Linked DNA regions of Homo sapiens: region 1 is linked to region 2. The links are contacts of gene promoters, found by promoter capture Hi-C in blood cells and fetal thymus (Javierre and others, 2016). All regions are on one chromosome and are shown on one strand. The core of a region is centred on a gene start or on the middle of the fragment in contact, and the rest is flanking DNA. Distances in the headings are between cores, read along the strand shown.

The links. Contacts are between HindIII fragments. The CHiCAGO score rates a contact against its expected background, and 5 or more counts as called.
Region 1: a fragment that was not itself captured here is called in contact with the fragment with the promoter of AEN in region 2 in 1 of 17 cell types (erythroblasts); the score reaches 7.8 in erythroblasts.

Annotation. Positions count from the first base shown.
Region 1 is chr15:85,700,921-85,707,105 of GRCh38, forward strand. The region is part of intron 17 of AKAP13 (A-kinase anchoring protein 13); the gene reads left to right. Among named protein-coding and RNA genes, the nearest start is that of LINC02883, 55 kb to the right of the region's middle. RefSeq lists a silencer at 3,932-4,061. The HindIII fragment of the contact is 4,594 bases long and covers 1,972-6,185 here.
Region 2 is chr15:88,619,318-88,625,436 of GRCh38, forward strand. It overlaps AEN (apoptosis enhancing nuclease), which reads left to right and starts at 2,023. Exons shown (of 4, transcript NM_022767.4): 1 at 2,023-2,065. RefSeq lists enhancers at 1,231-1,904, 1,905-2,578, 1,908-2,067, 3,554-4,753 and a silencer at 2,088-2,277. The HindIII fragment of the contact is 13,176 bases long and covers 1-6,119 here.

The DNA of each region.
Region 1 (6,185 bases), core at 3,019-5,518, 2.9 Mb before region 2:
TAGGTAAGTGAATTGCGAATGTCATGCACCTCTGACCTCACGTTTTTAGTTCATCACAGCTGCTTCATTGTTCTCATTAACTTTGAAAGTAAATATTAAAATTGCAACTCAAAATAAATCTGTACTGTTTTACATATCTGAACACAGTATATTAATATTTCATATAAGACTTTTTAGAGTTTTTCTAGTATTTTGGAAAACCAGTGAAATAGTGGATTGGCTACTGGTTCTGTGCTAATAGTGTTTATAAGTGGAATGGGACTTTTTTTAATATGAAGTCACCCAAGGAATTTGCTTTTTCTGGAGGCACGTTATTTCATGAAGTCCAGTGTGTTATCACTAGACTAAAGTCTTTTCTGTTTGGGAAGTCTGTCGGTGGGGACAGGGGTCATAATAACCTTTGCTAGTTGTTCTTTGATTTTTGGTAATGGCTTGATCTAATCAAATATCAGAGATTATCTTAGTTCTACCTGCTCAGCAAAAACCAGGAAAAAGAGTTAACATATTTGAGGGGTTTTTTTTGTTTTTTGTTTGTTTGAGACGGCGTCTCACTCTGTCACCTAGGCTGGAGTACAGTGGCGCAATCTCGGCTCACTGCAACCTCCTCCTCCCAGGTTCAAGCGATTCTTCTGCCTCAGTCTCCCAAGTAGCTGGGACTACAGGAACACGCCACCACACCTGGCTAATTTTTTTTTGTATTTTTATTAGAGTTGGGGTTTCACCATATTGGCCAGGCTGGTCTTGAACTCCTGACTCAGGTGATCCACCCTCCTCAGGCTCCCAAAGTGTTGGGATTACAGGCGTGAGCCACCATGCCTGGCTATATTTGAGGTTTAAACTGAAAAGTATCAGACAGCAAAAAGGAATAGTTTAAGTTGGGCTTGACTGTTACCCTAATATGCACTAAGTTTCAAAAATACATTCTTTAATTTGCATACCACCCTACTCCAGAAGTAATGTAGAAATAGTCTCAACATCTGGTGATAGCATTAAGGTTTATGTAAGACAGTCTGCAGCCTGCCTCTTATAAAAAGAAGGGGGTAGGCCAGGCACGGTGGCTCACGCCTGTAATCCCAGCACTTTAGGAGGGCAAGGCAGGTGGATCACGAGATCAGGCGTTCAAGACCAGCCTGACCAACATGGTGAAACCCCGTCTCTACTAAAAATACAAAAAATTAGCTGGGCATGATGGTGGGCGCTTGTAATCCCCAGCTACTTGGGAGGCTGAGGCAGGAGAACTGCTCGAACCCGGGAGGCGGAGGTTACAGTCAGCCAAAGATCGCGCCATTGCACTTCAGCCTGGGTGACAGAGCAAGACTCACACACACACACACACACACACACACACACAAAAGGAGTGAAAAGGATTGAAAGCAACAAAATAGTATGTAGTCATCTTCTCAAAGGAACCAAAGTAATGGGCTGATTATCTTCAGCTTCCTGAAGAAGCTGAATGTTTGTATGTAGGAAGTCCCATGTGTTATCTTGGCAGGAAGTAGAAAATATGAGTAATTTGGGGACGCAGAATCTTTCGTCACTTCCCTCCATCGCGTCTCATGTCCAGGATCTTCCCAGGAGTCGTAGGAAATGTAGCATCCATGCAGTTAGTCGTTTACCTCCTAGGAAACCTTTGTGCTCTTAGGAGACAGTGGCTTCCCATTGTGGTTAAGTGTAACCCTGTTTGGCTGACCCCTGGATAGAGCTTCATACCCTCAGCACTGCATAGTCACCTTTGACTTGTGGTTAGAAAGATCAGCCATATAGTCCATCATGATGATATGTTATGATGGTTTATACAAGAAACTGGGACTTTTTATCTCAGCCAAAACGCTACTCTTGCTTTAGGATTAGGTGACTTTAACAGGGTTAATAGAGGAATGTCTTTTCAACTCTTATTTCTCTATTATGTAAAGCTGTCCTTGAATAGTCAGCTGTTCTTTCCAGCTGCCACAAATAATTTGTTCTTTGAAAAGCTTAGTGACTTAGTGGGGTCTTTCAGAATAAGGAATTTGTTATGTTCAGGTTTTGGGGTCTTGCCAGTGGTTCTGTTTTGCTTGCTTTAAACAGATGTAAAATGATACTGAGATTATTGCTGATTTATTTTCTGTTGTGCTAGCAGCATTTCAGTACTTTTGTGGTAGGTTGTTTCTTTTACATAAAAAATAAACAAGTAAACCAGCTGCAATCTAAGTAGGAAACATAAGAATTTAGAATGTGTGTGATGGTTAGATTTTACTTCTGATTTCATCAGAAAAGTTGCCCTCTAGACAGTTTTCTGGCATTTATAGTTCATTGCTTATATGAGAGAATAAAATACATATAGTTGATTAAAGGAAGGAAGTTTATTACTTAGGGAAAAGGAAGGTAAAAAAAGACCCTAAGCAATAAAGGCAATTCTTTTTTAAGCAGAATACTTTCATTTTATTTCATTTTTGTTTACCAGTGTTGTTACGAAAACTGCTGCTGGGGCTACTTCAGCTGAGATGATTTGGCTCTTTTTTGTGGCTTTCTTCTTGTTCTGTACATCAGCACTGTGGTTATTACACCAGCTACCAAGAACATCTCACATGCCTTTTGCATATAAGCACTCTTAGTCCAGATAGGGCGATGTCTCAAATCCCCCAAAGATTTTATTTATTGGCCAGGTGCCGTGGCTCACGCCTGTGATCCCAGCACTTTGGAAGGCTGAGGCGGGTGGATCACCTGAGGTTAGGAGTTTGAGACCAGCCTGGCCAACATGGCGAAATACCATCTCCACTAAAAATACAAAAAATTAGTCAGGCGTAGTGGCATGGACCGGTAATCCCAGCTACTCAGGAGGCTGAGACAGCAGAATCACCTGAACCCAGGAGGCAGAGGTTGCAGTGAGCCAAGATCGTACCACTGCACTCCAGCTTGGGTGACAGAGCAAGACTCCATCTCAAAAAAAAAAAATATATATATATATATATACACACACATATATTTAATAATTTTTTTTTGAGAGACAGGGTCTCTGTTAAAGATTTTAAACAAGAAGTTTAAAGTTGCAGAAAGAATTTTGTAGCATGCATTTCTAAATTTGCTCATATTTAACTGTTTTTTGTTTTATTTTCATTTTCTTGGTTAGAGTTGAAATGATAGGAGAAAGTTGTGCATTTCTATCCTTAAAGGTAATTCCTCAACTTGTGTCCTGGAGAAGAATCAGGTCATTTTTCCCAGTTAGATTTTGCTGCTCACATCTGTAGGCAGAACAGTCAGAAGTCTTCAGCCTATTCCCAAGTGATGATCAATGAACTGAAGTACTGGAAGACCTTTTTTGTCAGAGCCTTGGCTGCATATGACTCAGCTCCCAAAGGTGGCTCGTTTCTGTGTAGGCAGTCCTTTGATATTCTGTCATTTCATTTCAGTTTGGCATGGCCACTCCTCTTATCATTGTATAAAGTTGATTTTCTTAAGTTAGCCTCGCTAATGGTTTGTTTTATTTTTCTTCCGAAAGATAAAAAACACATAGTATATAACCATTCGCCAAAGATCTGTGGTGGTTGGTGGCATGGGTTAAAAAAAAGATACAGCAATAGATAGATGATAGTTTCCAGTCATGTGGGTTTAACTTCATTTTCTTTGGTTTGATGCCTCCTTGTAGCAAAGAAAGAAGTTGAAGGCTGGACTGTTTGTTTTAGGTACAGAGGAATCCGATTAGGGATCAGCTCTGTTCCCATAAACCACTGTGCTGAGACCTTTTTGAAGAATTTTAAAAAATGAAAGCATATTGCCTACTGCTATTAGGAAATCTATCAAATAAATAAATAAAAGGCCAGATAATTATTTTCTGATCTTCATAACAACATGGTATGGTTTGTGGCAGAGAGCTTAAAAATGTATTAGATTTGTCTTCAATTCTTGTGTTCTTGGTAATTTTCTGTTTTCCCAAACAGAGAGTAAGATTTTAGTCTCATGACTTTGGCTGATGTCAGTGGGGCTGAAGTTTCTAAATCACCCACGCACAGCTCTAAAACTGTCACTGTGAATTGAGTCCAGGACAACTTGGAAACAAGTTGAGTGTTTTTCAAGTAGGTACTTCAGCATGTTAAGGAGATGTCCATGCAAACTATCACTAAGAGAAAACTCATGACCATAATATAGAGCGTGTTAAACTTCCAGCTGGGTTGTGGGTTTGGGGACATGTTTCAATTAATTAAAAGTGAATTTATGTGAAAAGTTCTTTACTAGAAGCACATTTTAAATGATTTTTTTCTGCTTCTATGTTCATCTCAGACACTCAAACACTGGCCTGAGAGTTTGAATATTGCTGAAACCTTTTTACGTGATAGTGCCACTCCCTTAAAAATCATCATTGCTTAAATCTCTGTAGGGTGTTGGAACTGGTTGGGAAGAAAGGAACAGAAAGAACAGAACTTGGAAACAAATTCTGCCCATAGTGTTCTTGGTCACTTTTGCAGATCAGAATTAGTAGCTGGTTCTCCAGCAAATCTGCCACCTCCTGTGTTGCCCTTAGGTGCCTAAAATATTATAGATTTTCAATAAAACAAAAGAAAAAAAATATACTTTTTTAACTGGATTATAAGACAATAAAATCTTATCTTTAAGTTATCACAAGATGCGATAAATGGATTATGCAAAAGGATATGGAAATGTTTATAAGCAAATCCAAGGAACTTTGAACGACATTAGAGTGTGATGATTTTTTAAAAATTAAAAATTTTTTTTAATTTTGAAAAATGTTAATACAAAGTATTATACATAGGTAATTTATCACATATGTGTCCATGATTCAGAATGAACACATAGTAACATTCTGTCAGACGGCTTCAGATTGTTTCACTTTTTAAGAAACCATTATGGTTAAGTTCAGATTCCCCTTTGTTTCCCTGCCCCATGCATCTTCCTTCCTCCCCAAGGACAAGGACTGTCATGAATTCAGTGCATTCGTAGTCTGTGTTTTATAATTTATTTTCATACATAAACAACATATAATTTGTTTTTGTTTTTAACCTACATAAATACTACCATACAGTACCTCTTTTTGTAATTTGCTTTATTCTCTTCAGCATTATATATTGAGGATTCAGCACGCTGAAAAACATAGATCTACTAATCATTGACTTTGCCTTTTCATAGTCTTTTTATACTTTTTCTGTAGAAGGGAAAGAGAAATGGACTTAAAGATGATGTATTTGAAAGACTTTAGCTGAGTGGGGATTTGTGAAGAGAAAGGGTTTGAGTGGGGTGGGCTTTCAAGTCTGTGCATGGGAAGGATATGATGGATCAACTAATGGGAGAGGAAGAAACCAGAAAGGAGCATGCCAGCTGCAAGTCCTGGGCATCTCTGTGGCAGAGGAGGGGAGGTGCACCATACACCCTGAGTAAGAATAGTGCTCGTGAGGATGGGCAGAAACATGTTTTGGCTTACTAGAAAATAAATAAAGCCGTTTGCCTCGACCACTTTGTTATGCTTCTTGCTGTGGGTCCAGCAGCCTGAAACTCACTTACCCATCTGATAGAATCACAGCAGAGGGAACCTGGGGGAAAATGTGATTCCTCCTTTTTAATTTTATAGATGAGGAAACGGAGGCCTGTCAAGAAGGGACTAGGGTCATACTAGTACATACATACATGCAGAGCCAGGACCTACGTCAAATTTAGTTTGACAGCTGTTTGTCCTTTTGTGTTACTAAATTGATGTTTGACATACTGTAATCAAGGCTGTGTCAGCGCATTCATCTAATTTTAGTTTAAATAGGCATAGTAGGGCCGAGAGAGGAGCATTTGAATAGGATGCATGAGCTAGGCACTATGCTGGAGAGTCTTAATTTGAAGATTCAGCAGTGGGTGAATGGTCCCTGCCCCAGAGAGGGGATAGAGAAAAACCTAAGAGAGTCTCAATACACTGTGCCAGTGGTATTAAGGAGGAGACCTGTGAACCAAGTGGGTGTTAAAGGAAGTGTTACAAAAGGCATGGAATAGGCCTTTGAGGTCTGGGATTCTAGCAGTCTCCTTTCTGGTTTCCTTCCCTCCCCATCATCACTCCAGTCCCCCACAAATCCATGTGTCTGGGCTAAAAGAGATGTTGGCCCAAAAGAGATGTTGGCCCTTAACTGGTGAGTTGATGTAGACAGGACCTGTGATGCTTCCTGAATCAGTCTGTGAGGCATTGCCTAGTGAATGGTATCTGTGGTTGATTT
Region 2 (6,119 bases), core at 773-3,272:
AAGCTGAACCCCAAAGACCCCAGGCATATTCTGAGGCCCAGCACCATGGAAGCAGAGGATCTGGATATTGACTCTCTTAAAACTCTCCTTGGTTGGGTGTGGTGGCTCACGCCTGTAATCCCAGCACTTTGAGAGGCCAAGGTGGGTGGATCACGAGGTCGGGAGTTCGAGACCAGCCTGACCAACATGGTGAAACCCCATCTCTACTAAAAATACAAAAATTAGCTGGGCATGGTGGCACGTGCCTGTAATCCCAGCTGTTCCTGAGGCTGAGGCAGGAAAATTACTTGAACCCGGGAGGCACATGTTGCAGTGAGCCGAGATTGTGCCACTGCATTCCAGCCTGGGTGACAGAGTGAGACTCCATCTCAAAAACAAAAACAAACAAAACAAAAAAAACTCTCCTTGCCCCAGATTTACCTCCCACAGTCCCCATGCCTGAAGACCGCTGTCCTATAACCCCTTCCCCTCTGCTCTCTGATCAACGCTGCCTCCTAAGTAGCATTTGAATCTGTCATTTCAAATGCTACTTAGGTGGGGAGCTCTTTATCCTCCACACCACTCTGGACATCATGATCTTCCAAATTTCCACAAACACTCCCCCACTCCTTTCTCCAGTCCTCATCCATTCCTCTCTATGCTGCAGCCAGAACAAGTTTTTTCAAATGCAGATTCACTGGTAAACTATCTATGGCTTAAATCCCTCTGCCTCCCCAAAGCCTTCAGGGGCCTGGGTAAAAGGATTGATCTCTCTTGTGACCTCATCCCTTGTCCTGCTTCCCTCAAATTTGTACTCCCATCAGAAAGAGCTCCTAGCTTATTTCTCATCACAGGTACGTTTCCAAATCACTTCTGCTTGCAAAATGTGAACTAAGAGAAGTCAGACTGCTTAGGTAAGGATCTTTGGATTCTAGGTGTTTCTCCTTAATTTAAGTGTCAATTTCCTTAACTGTAAAACTGAAATAATAGTAAGGTCATTGTACAAATTAACTGAGTATTTTGCCTGGCACATCATTCGTGCTCACATAATACGTGTGAACTGTTTATTATTGTTCTTGTTATTACTCATGTTACACTGAATTTTCTTTCTTTCTTTCTTTCTTTTTTTTTGAGACGGAGTTTTGCTCTTGGTGCCCAGGCTGGATGGAGTGCAATGGCGCGATCTCGGCTCACTGCAACCTCCGCCTTCTGGGCTCAAGCGATTCTCCTGCCTCAGCCTCCCGAGTAGCTGGGATTACAGGCTCCCGTCAACGCCCGGCTAATTTTTGTATTTTTGGAGAGATGGGGTTTCATGTTGGTCAGGCTGGTCTCAAACTCCTGACTTCAGGTGATCACCTGCCTCGGCCTCCCAAAGTGCTGGGATTACAGTCGTGAGCCACCGCGCCCCGGCCTCATGTTGCACTGAATTTTCTGTTAACCTTGCTGTTTCCCTGCTGTTAGATAAACAACTCAGGATGCTTATGTGTTTATTGTGTGCATCCCACTGCCAAGCCCACGTAGGAACTTAATACTTAGGAGTCAAGTGTTGCAAAAGAATAAATGAAAAAGCAGCGCTGACGGAGGAAACCTGACTTTCAAAGTCTCTCTTTAGTGCCTACTGTGTATATTATTTCCTTGAATCCCAGAACACCCGAGGAGGTAAGGGCCGATGTTCCCAATCTGCAGATGTGGGTGTACTCAGTAAGTCATTCGGCCTTTGGTGGTACCAGGCTTACAGGAGCCCACATCCCGACCCAGGTAGAGGAGTGGATTGGAGCCGGGGAACACTGATGGGACCGGGCAGGGACGACAGGAGGTCAGTCTCCCTTCCCTTCTCTTTAAAATTTCCCGCCAGTATGGCCGGCTCGCAGCACGAGTTACGCCCTCTTCAGGAGTCCCTCCCCTTCTGCTCTCGCCCGCCTCCCCGCTGCCAGGCAGGCTCGACCAATCAGAAGAGGTCTTGGGCGGGCGCTGCCGTCCAGCGAGCCAATAGGCGGGCAGTCGGAGCCGGGCTTGCCCGGGCATGTGGGAGCTGCCGGCTTTCCGGACGCCACGTGCAGACCGGAAGAGACACGCGGGGCTTCAGGTGAGATCCAGGACCCTGCACCGGGGCGGCGGGGTCGGGCGGGCTGAGGCCGCGTGTCCCGGGTCGCAGGTCCCCGCGCGTTGTTTCCGCCCCGGCCTGCGGCGGGGACGCCTGAACTGGGCTGACCCTGCCCTACCGGCCCGCAGAAAAGCAGGCCGGGCGCCGCCTGTCTCCAGCCCTCGCTCTGCTCGGGGGTCCAGGGCCAGAGGGGGCGGCGCTGGTCGTTGGGACTCGGCCCAGCTGCCGCGGCCAGCAAGTGACCAACGCCCGAGTCCTTCCCGGTGAGATCAGGCCTCCCACGCGTCACGCCTGGGAGAACGCCAGCCGGCGGGGAGGTCGTGCCAGGATAGCAGACTTTAGTTGTTGTCGTTGTTCCGTGGACTTTTTAGCAGCACAGGGGACCTTATCGAGCCAGGTTTTTTCAGGTTTGGGCGATTATCAGAATTGTGGCTTGAGGGTAGGGGTCGTCCGCGCTCTTTTTAAAAATCTAGATTCTCAGGCCCCTTTCCCCAAAATAGCAATTAGGACGGTGTGGGAGTGGGCCTGAAAATCAGCCTTTCATCAGATGTCATATGGTAATTAACTACATTTGGGAAGCCCTTATCTAATTCACAGCCCTCGGTTGATGGTGAAGAGACGTGACTTGCCCCAGATCATCTAGCTACTTAGTGCCAGAGGAGGGTCTAGAACTGCCCTCTGCCCTCTTGATCAGCCAGCAGGTTGGTGGCTCTCATGCCACCGAGGATTCTGACTTCTTGGTTCCTTTGGGGCCTTTGCTCCATTGACTCTGCAGCTGGGACCCTTTCTTTAGGCCAGACCCCCTCCCTGCCTGAAGGCCGGGTGTCTGACCCCCAGAGCGCTGGGTCCAGGCTAGAGAAAGGCTTGTGTTTGTCCTTGTTGAAAGGGTTGTTTTATCTGAGCGGAACTTCTCTCCAGCTTCACTGAGCTACATTTGGGTCCCCAAAGAGGTGTGTCCTTGATGACTGTTGGTTTTGACGTGTCAGCATGTAGCAGGAGGAGCCGCGGACAAAACCCCACAGAGGTAGTGAAGGAATTGGCTTTTAATCAGCTGGAAGCATCGGCAGACTAGCATCTCAAAATCCGAGCTTGTTGAGTGCACAGTTTCTGTCCCTTTTAAGGACTCACAACACTAAAGATTTTACAAGAAAGGGCCATGATTGATTGAGCAATCTAGGGGGTATGTGACAGGGACTGCATGCACCGGTAGTCAGAGTGAAACAGAACAGAACAGAACAAGAGATTTCACAGTGTCCTTCTATACAATGTCTGAAATCTATGGATAACATCGGTTGCTAGGTCATGGGTTTAATTTTAACTATCAGGCTAAGGTCAGGCAGGCCCAGGCCTGGTTTTGGGTCTGGTTTTGGGTCTGGTGCGTGGCGCCGGGCTGCCTGCCTTTGGTTTTGCTTCCTTGTTTCTTCTTAAAACAGGTACTGAGTATAAAATAATACAGAACAATATGAGGGGGAGGTCTCTTTCTCTCTTCTCTTAAGCAAGGTCAGGGTGTTTGGAAAAGGACTACTTTCCTCTCTTGAAATAGGAGGCTACAGAGACCTTTTCTCAGATAACTTAATTTCTGGCTTCTTTAAAACCTTGCCAGTAGGATCAGGAAAGCCACCCACCCTACTCCTAGCCTCAGCCCCTCACAGAGAAAGGAGGGGACTATCCGCCAGCCCCCTTTCCCAAATTAGTTATTAGCAGGGTGGGCATTGGGCTTCTTAGGCTTTTTTCTCCCATTGCTGGGCTGAGGCAGATTAAGGTTCTGAATTTGTCAGTTCTAAGATGTGACTGTCAATATGAGGAAGTTGGTTACAGTTAAGACCTTTTTAAAAGAGAGACCTTTTCTCCTGGAAAGGATGGGATGAGCAAGCAGGGTGGATGAGTCAGGATGGGTCAGGTCTGGATGAGTCAAGTCAGGATGCGGTGCCCTGCCCTAGAGTGTGGGGATTCTTTATGCAAATGCTGGCATCATCAAACCTGGCATTTCACCTCACCTCCCATCCCCTTCCCATTTCTCTTAATCTCTGCTGCTACTGCTCAGGTTTTCATCTTCTCCAGACCTCTTTCTACACCCTTCTGAAGAGGACCTGCCACATGCTAGCTTCTAGGCTGGCTGTTGGGGAAGGTACAATCAAGGCTCTAACCTGCCTTCTTACAGCTCTGAGGTAGACTGTGTGTACCAATGGACTTTGAAGGGTGTAATAATTCTCAAATTGTGCTATAAGAGCTCAGCACAGAGGGATGAATTTCTTTGCTCCCCAGCTAGACTTAGTGTCCTGAGTCAGGGCTACTGTGGGATATTTCAGTGACCTCCATAGGTGCCTCTGGGGCTCCCCCACTCACTTGGCCAGTAGAGACCAATTCAGGGGACACCAGATTGCGGTAGGGGTGGCTTGTGGAAGGGCCACCAGAGTAGGAAACAGAAGATGAAATGGTGCAAAGGAGAGAGGAGCGAGGAGCAGTGCCTCCAGCATGACCCGCCTTATGCTCTACACCCCAGTGACTTGAGGCTGCTGGTGGGCCCTCTTCCTCCACCCTGGGTTAGTCCTTTTTAAGGCCTTTGCCCCTAACATGGCCACTGATTCTTCTCCCTTCTACCTGGAAGGTTACTGTTGTACATGCACACAGATGTAGCCTCTTCCAGGAAGCCTCCAGAGAATTGTCCTCCAGCCTGTTTTGCCTCCCTAGCACCTCTGCTTCAGCCCTTAACACACTTTATGCTTGGTTTCTGTCTCCACCATGAAACTAAACTTCTTGGAGTCCAGGATCCACCTGTGCAGCCGCCCAGCATCTGGCACAGTGGAGACCCGAGAGAGCCTCAGTATGGCATTGGCCTGTGCAACCCAGTGGGACAGAGTTTCTTCCAGAAGGGCTTCTGGGTGGTGGCGGAACAGTAGCTGAGTCTGAAAGAGCAGGAGGGCTGTGAGTGGGAAGGGAGGCTGTGGCTTGGGAAAGGGCAGTGAGTCCAGGCGGAGGCTGCTCTGGCCTGAGAAGAGCTGGCTGCCAACCACGGGCTAGAGTCTAACCTCTCTGGGAGAAGGAGCAGTGGTTATTGAGCCCCTACTGTTCAGAATACAGGAAGACCCCAGCATACATTGTGTCGTTTCCTCTTCACACAGTAGAGGGGGTGGTAGGATCATTTTACATGCCTGAAAACTGAAACTTAGCAGTTTAGGTCATTTACAAAGAGCTGAGTTAGGCCGAATATGGTGGCCCACGCCTGTAATCCCAGCACTTTCGGAGGCCAAGGCAGGTGGATCACCTGAGGTCAGGAGTTTGAGACCAGCCTGTCCAACATGGCAAAACGCCACCTCTATTAAAAATACAAAAATTAGCCAGGCGTGGTGGTGCATGCCTGTAATCCAGCTACACAGGAGGCTGAGGCAGGAGAATCGCTTGAAGCCGGGAGGCGGAGGTTGCAGTGAGCCGAGATCACGGCACTGCACTCTAGCCTGGGTAACGAGAACGAAACTCCGCCTCAAAAAATGCCAAGTTAAACCCTGCTCTGCCTGACTTCAAAGCCCTAGTTTGTTTGATCTGTTAAAAATGTACTGACTGACTTGGCATAACAAATGAGACAGGCTTTCCAAGTTATGGCCTCAGCTGTTGGGAAGATGCTGGGTTTTGCAAACTCACATGAACATCAGACATTTCCTGTAGCAGCAATGAACGACAGCACCTCTTATCCTAGCATTCAGTGACGAGGGCTTAAAGTCCGCTGGGTGGGAGCCCATCACAGAAATCTGCAAGCACTTCAGATCAGGACTTTTAAATGTTTCTAGATGCTGTGGCGATTAATGAATTACAACGTCAGGTAAAGAAATTACACTTAAAGGCTGGACACGGTGGCTCATACTTATAATCCCAGTACTTTGGGAGGCCGAAGTGGGCGGATCACTTGAGCCCAGTTTAAGACCAGCAGGGCAACATGATGAAACCCCATCTCTACTAAAAATACAAAAAAAGTAGCCAGGTGTGGTTGTGTGTACCTGTAGTCCCAGCTACCCAGGAGGCTGAGGTGGGAGGATCACTT